Linked DNA regions of Homo sapiens: regions 2 and 3 are each linked to region 1. Evidence: promoter capture Hi-C in human tissues and cell types (Jung and others, 2019). All regions are on one chromosome and are shown on one strand. The core of a region is centred on a gene start or on the middle of the fragment in contact, and the rest is flanking DNA. Distances in the headings are between cores, read along the strand shown.

Region 1 (3,382 bases), core at 750-3,249:
CTCAAATGAACATTTTCTAAGCACCGGCTGTGTATCGGACACTGTGGGAAGTTCAATCCTGCCAAAGATGACGTCTTATTCCGCTCTCAAGGAGCTTCTGCAGGAATGGAATTCATTGGCTTGGTAGCTGAGTTCTGTGAGGCACAACGTCCTCCTTCAGAGCCCTGGGAGGCCCCTCTGGTTGACTCACTAGAGGCTGCACTGGAAGAGCTTCCAGTATCCAGTCCTCCCCACGCCCTTCACTTGCACTACCCACCTGGAACTGAGGCTTGGCCCACCTTCTTCCTTCCAACCTCAGGACCCATGAAAACTGAAGCCCCTTCCTAGTGCCTCTTAGACCAGGGCAGAACCTCCACTGTATCCTCAGGATTGAAGACTGGGGCAGTACCTGTTTCTCCCATGTCCTCACTGAAAGTGTGAATAAGAAGCGGGGGTTGGCATTGTTCTCTTTGCCTAAAGAGCCAACCCAGCAGACAATGCACCAGCCTTTTTCAACCAGGCATCCTGGAGGGCACACAGGTGAATCAGTGAATTGGCAGTGTCCCAAAGCTGATGGGAAGGGGGTTGGAGCAGCAAGCTACCGTTGATGTCCCATCATTTCTTTTGGTTCTTTCACATTAGTAATAATTATAATTCCAACTGTAATAACAATAGCTAACATTCGCAGAGCTTTACTCAATGCCACTGTGTTAAAGCACTCTCCATGGCTTGTCTCATCTCATCCTCACAGCAGCCTTAGGAGCGAGGTGTTATTTTTATCTCCATTTCACAGATAAGGAATCCGAGCTTTCTCCCCACAGTGAAGATGGATAGGGAATTACTAAACAACTGAAGACAGGCAGGAAGGAGGAGCAAAGACGAACAAGGACTTCCAGAGATACCCCCTTTCTCTCTCCACCCCTTCTTTTCCCCAAGTATCTTCCTTTCCTTCTCTAGAAGAAATAAAGTTGGAAGAGAAAGAAGCAAAAATGAAGTAAAGACAAATAGAAGGACCTAAATTTACATCCTCAGTTATGTGGTAATACCCACCCCACTACACCACACCCCCACCTACCAAGGTACCAGTGGCAGGGGATGGAATTGCTAAAGGGATGAAAGGAGGGGCCCCAGCTCGCTTACACAGCAGTAACCTTCCTGGGGCCACCAAAGACCAGAGTCCAGATCCCCAGTGAGGTGCACCTCACTGGGTGGTGCAGTAGAGTCCCCTGGCTCAACCTCCGACCCTGGAGAAGTTGGCATGCACCACTCCCAAAGCCCCACTGGGCCTCTCCCAGGGTGACTGCTCTTCCAGGCTGCCCTGGCCCTCACTGCATCCTCCCTCTGGCTCCAGAATGGGGAAAGGTCCGGAGTCTTGCTGAATGGCAACTATAGCACTGCAGCCATTCGAGTGTGACTTGGGGCATCCCAACCCCATGCCTGGACTCCTCATTACCCACTCCTCCAGTCTGTCTTGCTCCAGACCCCAGATCACCCTGGGTAGCGGGTCCCCGAAACGAGAGTCCTTTAGAATGCTGCCATCACCTGTCCCTAGGCAGTTGCATCCTCCAGCACAAAGATCCAAACTCCTGCTGCAAAGTTCTGCTCATACCCTTTAAGAAAACTCTCAACCTTTCCTCCACCTCACTGGTTCTCCCTGTGCCTCCCCAACACCTGATAGATGTCCAGTTACTGCAGAACATAACAAGTACTGGGATGGATGGTCCAAACCCAAGTCATGAATGGCATTTGTTAGTATAGTAGACATTTCCGCAGGACACAGAATCATCCCAGTGGTCCTCATACCCATTGGCCAAGTCCCATTTTCCTCCCCTCCTCCAGCAGAGGGTCCCTACACTCCAGCAGGCAGGCTAAGCTGGCCTGGCTCCTCCCCCGAAGCTCCAGGTAACCCCATCACAATGCCCATCCCCTCTCCAGCTGCCCCAAGGGGGTGCTCAACTTACCGTCTAGGAGCTCTTAGAGGCTGCTGGCTGGTCCAGTTCCTTCTCCGAGAAACAAGGGTCAGCCAGATTCAGTCGGCAGGCCAGCAGACAAGTGGAGGTGGGCGGGGAATCCAGGCAGGAGTGGCCTGGCATTTCCTGGCAGAGCCCTGCCTCCCAGCTGTCTAAAGAGGGGTGAGGGAGAGTGTCCCTGTCTATTGGCAAAGTCCAGCCCAGGTAAGGGATTAGCTGAGGATCCCAGAAGTCAGTGAACTTTCCAGTCTAGGTCTGGAAGGAAGGAGGGAGGCAGGGAGACAACCTGGGTGTAGGTGCTGCACCTTGAAACCCCTCCTTACAGTGCCCTCTGCTGGTGAGTGGCTGTCCCCAGCCAGAGGCTATTATTAAAATAGCAGATAGGAGGAGGAGGGAACCTTCATCTGAGTTTCTTAAACTATAATGTGCACAACAGTCACCTGGGAGATCTTGTTAAAATGCAGGCTCTGATTCTGTAGGTCTAGTATGGGGCCTGAGATTCTGCAGCTCAAAGAAGCTCCCAGCTGATGCCAATGCAACCGGTCCAAGGAGCTTAGAGAGCATCTAGTTCCACCCGCTCCCCACACAGAGAAGACAGTGGAGCCACTGAGACGGTTAATGACTCACCAGTTGCTGGTGGACCTGAGATGTACCCATATTTTTCCTTACACAAGGTGCTTTCTACTTCCCCCACCCAAAGTTGGCAGAGACACTGCCGGTTGGGAGACAACTGAACTTTGGGGCCATTTGCCATTCTGAGTTCTTAAAACTCTGCCTAGGAGCGGTGGCACCACAAGAATGAAAACTCCTTGTGGAACTTTTCCCATGTTTTCGGCTGTCTCCTCAGCTCCTGGTACAGCCTGATAGATAGAAGGTGTTCAATAAACATGTCTTGAATGAATGAGTGAAGCAGTTGAGAGGGAAAAGGATGCATTTTGGCTCCAACTGGCCAACACTGAGCCCAGGTGAGCCACACGTTGGGTATGTAATATTGGGCAAGCTACTTAACTCCTCTGAACCTCAATTCCCTTGTCTGTCAAATGCAGTTAAGAATATCTACCTTGTGTGAGATAATAATTGTCATTATTGAGCTAATAAATGTCAAATGCCCACCACAGAATGGGTGGTCAATAGATGGTAACCGTTGTCACCAGGGTCTGGCCTCCTGCAGTTGAGGAGGCATGGTGAACGCCCCCCCAGGCCCCTAGTTATCATCTCCCATAGAAAATAAGTAACTTCCTCTGCTTTTGTCTCAGTTAATAATTCTCTAGCCTCTTGTCTCTGACTGCAATGCCCTCCCCTCTGCTTCCTTCCCTGGTGGAGGTGAGAGGGTGGAATAAACCTCCCAGGGGAGCCCAGTACCCCAAAGTGCAGAGATGGTAGAGAGCGGGCAACCTGGGAAGCAGACCTCATGCCTAAAGACAAGCCAGGAA
Region 2 (3,660 bases), core at 485-2,984, 1.3 Mb before region 1:
GGTAAGAGTGCTATGGCATTTAGTGGAGAGAGGTCAGGGATGCTAAATATCCAAGCATGCCACATTCTTGGGGAGAATTGTTCTGGCCCAAATGCAAGTAGCATCCTAGGTGCTAGGTAGACCACTGGGGTGATGTAGGGTATTTGGGTAGAAAATATGGATGTTGGAAGATGCAAGGATGGCCATAACCCATGATAGGCTGTTGTCTTCTGGTAGGACCAGAGTCAGGTATGATGCTCAACTGCAGGAAGTATGGTGCCTATAGAAAATACACTTTTTAGATCACATACCAAAAAAAAGGTCTATCATTGAAAACATGCATTTTCTCATTTATCTCAGTGGCATAGTCTTTATGAAATGTTAAATGGTGAATCAAGGAGGGTTATAATTTTATATAGAAACAAGACTAGAACTGGTTAGGGGAAGGAAGGTAGAGAGAACAAGGGCAACTGTACCATAAACACTTGAAAACTTCCTTCTATTGATTGGCTTATCTGCATCTGTAGAAATCATGACATCCTGCTTTTGTTGTTGTTGTTCAATATAAAATATGTTCTGTTTTGCTATGAACAGACATTCCTGGTAACTATGCACAGAATCTTCCCTAATCTAACTGATTTTTCCCCACCTGCAAATCAACCAGTTATACATTTTCAATCCCAGTGCTTGATGATAGTTAAACCTAACTTATATTTAAACCTTACATTGGGCTGAATTAGTTGATTTTCCTCCAGGATGAAATTCACCTCATGTTGAAGAAGCATACTGTCTAATCTTTCTCCTGCAGTGTTATATGTAACAAGTGAGCTTGATCTGGGACTCCTGATCAGCCTGGTCATAAAACTGCACCTCTCAACTCCAATCTCTTTTTCCTGATTACCTTCTTCATTTTTTCATGTACACAGAGCATTCCATGTGATGCTTGGTTTTGTCCATCCTGAGGCCTGCAAATGACCTATGAATTTGCTGCTCTGTGGTCAGCATATGGGAATTATAGTGTAGGAGCAGCCAAGTAGAGAGGGTACATCTCACCCACTCTTAAGCTCAGAAACTTTCAAATTTTAAAAGCTTTTTAACTAACTCTAATTTGTCAATGGATAATACAAATTAAGCACAAACAGCCTTGATTTAATTGGGTACACTGACATCTGCCTTTACAGCTGTGTGCTTTCAAAAGTTGAGCACAAGCATTAATATTTTGGTTGAGTCTACATTGTGCACAAAGAAACGCACAGAAACAGCAGAAAGGTCTAACCAGTGTACTGTAGGTATTCATTATCCACAGGGGGAAGTACCTGTGGCAAATTCAACATTCCTGTTTTAGTTCTTCTTCTACCTAGCACTTTCTGGACTCCTGCCCTCTGTGGTTGGTTGATGTGTGCTCTGGGAATGCAAGCTCATTTCAGTATGTTCTCTTTGATGGTTCAGAAGGCATTTGAGACCACGCAGAGCCCCTGGGTCATGATTATGAACAACAATTATTGTACTAGAGATTTACAGATGTGCTGGTTACTGGAGGGTTGTGGTTAATAGAATGCTGAACAACAAAGACTTTATTGTATAACTGACGAGGGAAAAGTTCCCCAACAGCAAAATACATAGTCTCAAAAAGTCAGGGGAGCTGGAGGAAAACACATGAAGTTGAGTTTTCCCTTTATACAAAAAAGTTGTTTCCCCAAATTAAATGGTCAGTTTTAAAAAGTCACCGTGTAGTAAATACTTTGCTTCAAAGAAGAAAGAGACAAAATGTAGAGGCAACAAGCCAAAGTCTCCCATATGTAAATTCTTTTCCACAGTGTGGCAAAATCTTTGGTGAAATCTGATTAACTCGTCACCAGGGAACTGTTCAGCGGCTTTTTCTTCATTACAGCGATTCAGGTCCCATGAACCTCCTGCTGCGCATGAAATATCAGACCTGATCTTTCTGTGGCAAATTCAAATACAGGTCAGGCACTACCTTTACACTAAATGCATAAACATGACACCAAATTTTAATGCTAACATTTGGCTTAGTCTTTGGTAATCAGATGTCCAAATTGGGTCATGTTAAGAAGTTCACCGAAACCTAAGAAAACTCCCTGATGGTGGTGTTAATTATCTTATGGTGGATGAGGTTCTTTCTGACCCATTTCCCAAAACCAATGGAGTCAGCTCTGTAACAGACCAAACTTCAGTGGGTTTATTTCATTCATTATGTAGAAAGATTACCAAGCACCAGACAGGTGGTGGTAGAACATATTTCTGTTCAATGACTGTGGTAGATGGCTTCCATTTGGCCCTCCAGATCCATTCGTCATCCCATTTCATTTTTAATTGATAGGGCAAATTTTAATACCAACTGGAGATTTTTTTGTGTGGAGTCTGTGATCTAAGAGAAGAATCTGACTGGTGTGAGATGATATCTCATTGTAGTTTTGATTTGCATTTCTCTGATGGCCTGTGATGATGATCATTTTTTCATGTGTCTGTTGGCTGCATAAATGTCTTCTTTTGAGAACTGTCTGTTCATATCCTTCGCCTACTTGTTGATGGGGTTATTTGTTTTTTCTTGTAAATTTATTTGAGTTCTTTGTAGATTCTGGATATTAGCCCTTTGTCAGATGAGCAGATTGCAAAAATTTTCTCCCATTCTGTAGGTTGCCTGTTCAATCTGATGGTAGTTTCTTTTGCTGTGAAGAAGCTCTTTAGTATAATTAGATCCCATTTGTCAATTTTGGCTTTTGTTGCCATTGCTTTCGGTGTTTTAGACATGAAGTCCTTGCCCATGCCTATGTCCTGAATGGTATTGCCTAGGTTTTTTTCTAGGGTTTTTATGGTTTTAGGTCTAACATTGAAGTCTTTAATCCATCTTGAATTAATTTTTTTATAAGGTGTAAGGAAGGAATTCAGTTTCAACTTTCTACATATGTCAACTTTCTACATATGGCTAGCCAGTTTTCCCAGCACCATTTGTTAAATAGGGAATCCTTTCCCCATTTCTTGTTTTTGTCAGGTTTGCCAAAGATCAGATAGTTGTAGATGTGTGGTATTATTTCTGAGGGCTCTGCTCTGTTCCATTGGTCTATATCTCTGTTTTAGTACCAGTACCATGCTGTTTTGGTTACTATAGCCTTGTAGTATAGTTTGAAGTCAGGTAGCATGATGCCTCCAGCTTTGTTCTTTTGGCTCAGGATTGACTTGGCAATGGGGGCTCTTTTTTGGTTCCATATGAACTTTAAAGTATCATTAAAAAGTCAGGAAACAACAGGTGCTGGAGAGGATGTGGAGAAATAGGAACATTTTTACACTGTTGATGGGACTGTAAACTAGTTCAACCATTGTGGAAGACAGTGTGGTGATTCCTCAGGGATCTAGAAGTAGAAATACCATTTGACCCAGCAATCCCATTACTGGGCATATACCCAAAGGAATATAAATCATGCTGCTATAAAGACACATGCACACGTATGTTTATTGTGGCACTACTCACAATAGCAAAGACTTGGAACCAACCCAAATGTCCAACAATGATGGACTGGATTAAGAAAATGTGGCACATATACACCATGGAATACTATGCAGCCATAAAAATGATGAGTTCGTGTCCTTTGTAGGGACATGGATGAAGCTGGAAACCATCATTCTCAGCAAACTATCTCAAGGACAAAAGACCAAACACCG
Region 3 (3,515 bases), core at 432-2,931, 1.9 Mb before region 1:
GGCAGAGTCCCTTATGGAAAAACAGAGCAATTAACAAGAAACTGGAGGTCCAGCATTTCCTCTCATCCTTTTGTCTGGCAATCAGCGTTTGGGTTCTCAATAATGGAAGTTTTTCTCTGAATTCAGTTTCTCTGGGTCCACCTCAATGATCTCATTCCTTTGGAAATGAGACATACAGTCAAAAGTTCATTGCATGGGTTAGACATTGTTTTTTAACTGCAGAGAGAAAAAGAATAAGGGAAATGGTTTCTAAAATCTTAAGCAAGTGTTGTACTTAGAAAGTTCTAGTCAACAATAAAATTATCCAAAGACAATTAACACAAACTGCACACAAGGAAATGGATTGTCTGAACTCTGCTGCGCTCTTTTCACCTTTCTGCAAGTCAGCTGGAATCCTGTATATCACTGAGAATATCAAATCAAAATTGAGTAATAGGTTCAGTAATTTTTAAAAATTCCCTCAAATCAAATGTTGTGCAATAATAGATGAACTTACAGGAAATAATTTTAAGGTGAGCAAGGTACACTTTTCTTCCAGTATATTTTCATTTTAAAAGGAATTTTTTAGTTCTTATTGCACTTATGAGGAACAAAGCACTGGGCACAAATTGTTACAAAGCACTCATCCCTTGATATGTTTTGTCTTGTATTTCCACATAGACATTTCAACCTCACTGCAAGCCACCTTACCATTTTACTGAGTTAAAACTAAATGAAAACACAAAAGGATGCAAATTAAATTCATCTGCAAAACAAGAGATTACCAAAACAATTAAATGTGAAAAGGTTATCATACTAAATCACTTTTTTTTGTTTGTGTCTTGAACATTCACTATGGAACTGGAATAAGCTTCTGCCACTACCGGCAGTTACAGCTACCACACTTTGGTAAATTCTGTATTCAAACGCATTTCTAAGTCACAGGCTATCTGGGCTACTAGCTGCATGTGCCCCAGGTGCGAATCAAATGAAGTTTTAATTACTGCTACTTGTGATCGGTATCCAATTAGACCTTTTACCCTCCTCCATTAGCAGAGGGCTGTGGCTCAACTTGGTTGTGGAGAGGTTTCCCAATGCCACAGGGCGTCACGATAACTCAATTCGGAGTGAATAATTTAAGAGCAGAGGTGCTTTCTCCCAGGACCCTCGACTCTCGCTGGAATCAGGACCTGCGTGGGTCGCGGGCTGGAAAGAAAATGTCAAAACTGGTAACAGTGCTGACACGTGTGGCCGGAGATGAGCGGTCCGGCCCTCGATCAGGATGGGGGGCCAGTAGCCCCGCCTCCGGCAGCTAGGGCCACACCCCCGGCAGCTAGGGCCGCGCCCTCGACTGTGGCTCCGAGGCCAGGTCCTAGGGCCGAAGTTTCCATCGTCTCACCTGAACTAGGCCGGGCTGGGCCCGGGCACTCGCGGGCCTAGGTTTCCATACCAGGAACCGCTTTAGCCAGCCTGGGGCTGCCTTTAGAGTCGCTGCTGCTTCCGCCTTCTCTCCTGGGGTTTGTGCGCCCTGACTGGCAGCAGGGGGTTGGGCCGCCAGACCCGCCCGTTTCCGCGCCGCCCGAAACTCAGCTAACCGCTGTTCCATGGCGCGCGCCTCGCGTCCGTTGGCCGATAAGGGAGCGCGCGCCCGCAGGCCGCACAGCAGTTGCCTCCGCTCGGCCCGCGCCGGCCGCCGTGCGCCTGCGTGGCAGAAGCCCCTGCTGAGCATGCGCACTGGTGTGACCCGCGTCTCCTCCGTTTGTGAAGTCTGGCGGGTCGCGTGTATACTCAGCCGTTCTCTCTTCACAGGCACGTGGACACAGTGTCACCTCCTCAAGCCAAGTCTAAAGCACAGGGCTGCCCCATTGCCCTCTCCCAAAGGCCGCTCTGCCTTGCTGCATCTCACTTAAGGGCTCGAGGCCCCACTGATCCAGCGTCCTGTATTCGGGATCTCTGTTGCTGGGCCCCAATGAACAGCGCCACAGTGAGAAGATGGTTCCAGGGGTTAGGAGAGGCCCGTGATCTCTACGACATTCCAGCGTCAGAGGAATAACAGGCTACATCTTACCCTTTTTCTCTTATCAAGGAAAGGGTATGCCAATCTTAGTACCTGGAGGGTGACTTTCTCACTGCTCACAAAGCAGGCTGTGCAGCTCCATCATTGGTCTTGCCACGTTGGGAAATTATCTCGTTTTGTGTCTAGATACGTCAGAACCTTAAAAAAACCAACAACAAAAACTTTTATTGGGGTGCAACATAAAATACACATCTTAAGAATATGACTCAGTAGATTTGCTCTTATGTATGCACCTGTGTAACTACCACCCAGATGGAGAGAAAGAACATTTCTGTACTCTGGGAGTTTCCTTGTGCCCTCTCCCAATCAGTACCCTCCCAAAAGGACACAGTTCAGGTTAGGGGCTGTTTTATACGTTCTTAAAGCTGTAAGCATCTAGCTAAGTGTCACTTACATAATTAAGACTCAAATATTTGTTGGATCTGGCTGAGGGTGACTCGAGAAATTAGACAAATTAGAACAGAGTCATCCATTCATTTAACAGACGTTTACCTAGGGCCTGCTCTGTCTAAAGTCACAGGCACTGGGGATGCTGGGATGAAAGGAAAAAACAAACAAAAACCTGTTTTCTTAGAGCTTACACTCCAAATGGAAATACAGACAATAAACAAATGTGTATCTACATATTTCATGTCATATCAGGTACTGATAAGTGCTGTGAAGAAAAGTGAAGCAAAGTAGGCAATGGTGGAGGTATTAGAGAAGACCTCCCTGAAGGTTTGTCATTTGGGCATAGACTTAAATGAGTGAGGTATGTAGATATCTGAACAGGAGTGTTTCAGTCAGAGGAACAAGTGCAAAGGTCCCGAGGCCTCAAATAGCACGCTTGACTTGTTCACAGAACATCAGGGAGGCTGTTATGACTGGATTGGAAGGAGGGAGAGGGAGGCAGGGAGGGAGGGAGGGAAGGAGGGAAGGAGGGAGAGAGGGGGAGAGAGGGAGGGAGGGAGGGAGGAAAGAGTGACAGAAAATAAAGATGCCAGGGGCAAGATCGTGCATGTAAGGCCCTGTAGGCCATGGTGAAGACTAAGTGTGGTGGGAAGCAGTTAGTGGATTTTGAGCAGGAGATGATATGATATGACATATTTTTAAAGGATTACACTGGCTGATGGAGGTGGGACCCTGGAAGATTGCAAGAATAGAAGAAGGGAAACTAGTTAGGAATAAATATGGTAGAATGAGAAACTGTAGTAGTTTGAGCTAGAGTGGTAGTGATGGAGGTCACGAGAATTGGTCAGATTCTGAATGTATTTTGAAGACCTGAGCCAACATGGTGTGAGACGGATTGGATGTGGAATGTGAGGAAAAAAGGTATCAAGGATGACAGGGCCAGCCATCGTGGCTCACGCCTATAATCCCAGCACTTTGGGAGGCCAAGGCAGGGGGATCGCTTGAACCTAGGAGTTCAAGACCAGCCTGGGGAACATAGCAAGACCTCATCGCTATTAAAAAAAAAAAA

The links. The method cuts DNA at HindIII sites, captures the fragments that hold promoters and counts their contacts. A contact is called where the count stands out against the background at its distance.
Region 2: a fragment that was not itself captured here is called in contact with the fragment with the promoter of UNC5CL in region 1 in 1 of the 25 tissues and cell types used here (dorsolateral prefrontal cortex).
Region 3: the fragment with the promoter of SAYSD1 here is called in contact with the fragment with the promoter of UNC5CL in region 1 in 1 of the 25 tissues and cell types used here (spleen).

Annotation. Positions count from the first base shown.
Region 1 is chr6:41,037,222-41,040,603 of GRCh38, forward strand. It overlaps UNC5CL (unc-5 family C-terminal like), which reads right to left and starts at 2,000. Exons shown (of 9, transcript NM_173561.3): 1 at 1,941-2,000. The HindIII fragment of the contact is 20,650 bases long and covers 1-3,382 here.
Region 2 is chr6:39,764,406-39,768,065 of GRCh38, forward strand. No RefSeq gene overlaps it. Among named protein-coding and RNA genes, the nearest start is that of DAAM2, 26 kb to the right of the region's middle. The HindIII fragment of the contact is 7,239 bases long and covers 1-3,660 here.
Region 3 is chr6:39,113,505-39,117,019 of GRCh38, forward strand. It overlaps SAYSD1 (SAYSVFN motif domain containing 1), which reads right to left and starts at 1,682. Exons shown (of 2, transcript NM_018322.3): 1 at 1,379-1,682. The coding sequence starts at 1,585. RefSeq lists an enhancer at 1,276-1,565. The HindIII fragment of the contact is 12,223 bases long and covers 1-3,515 here.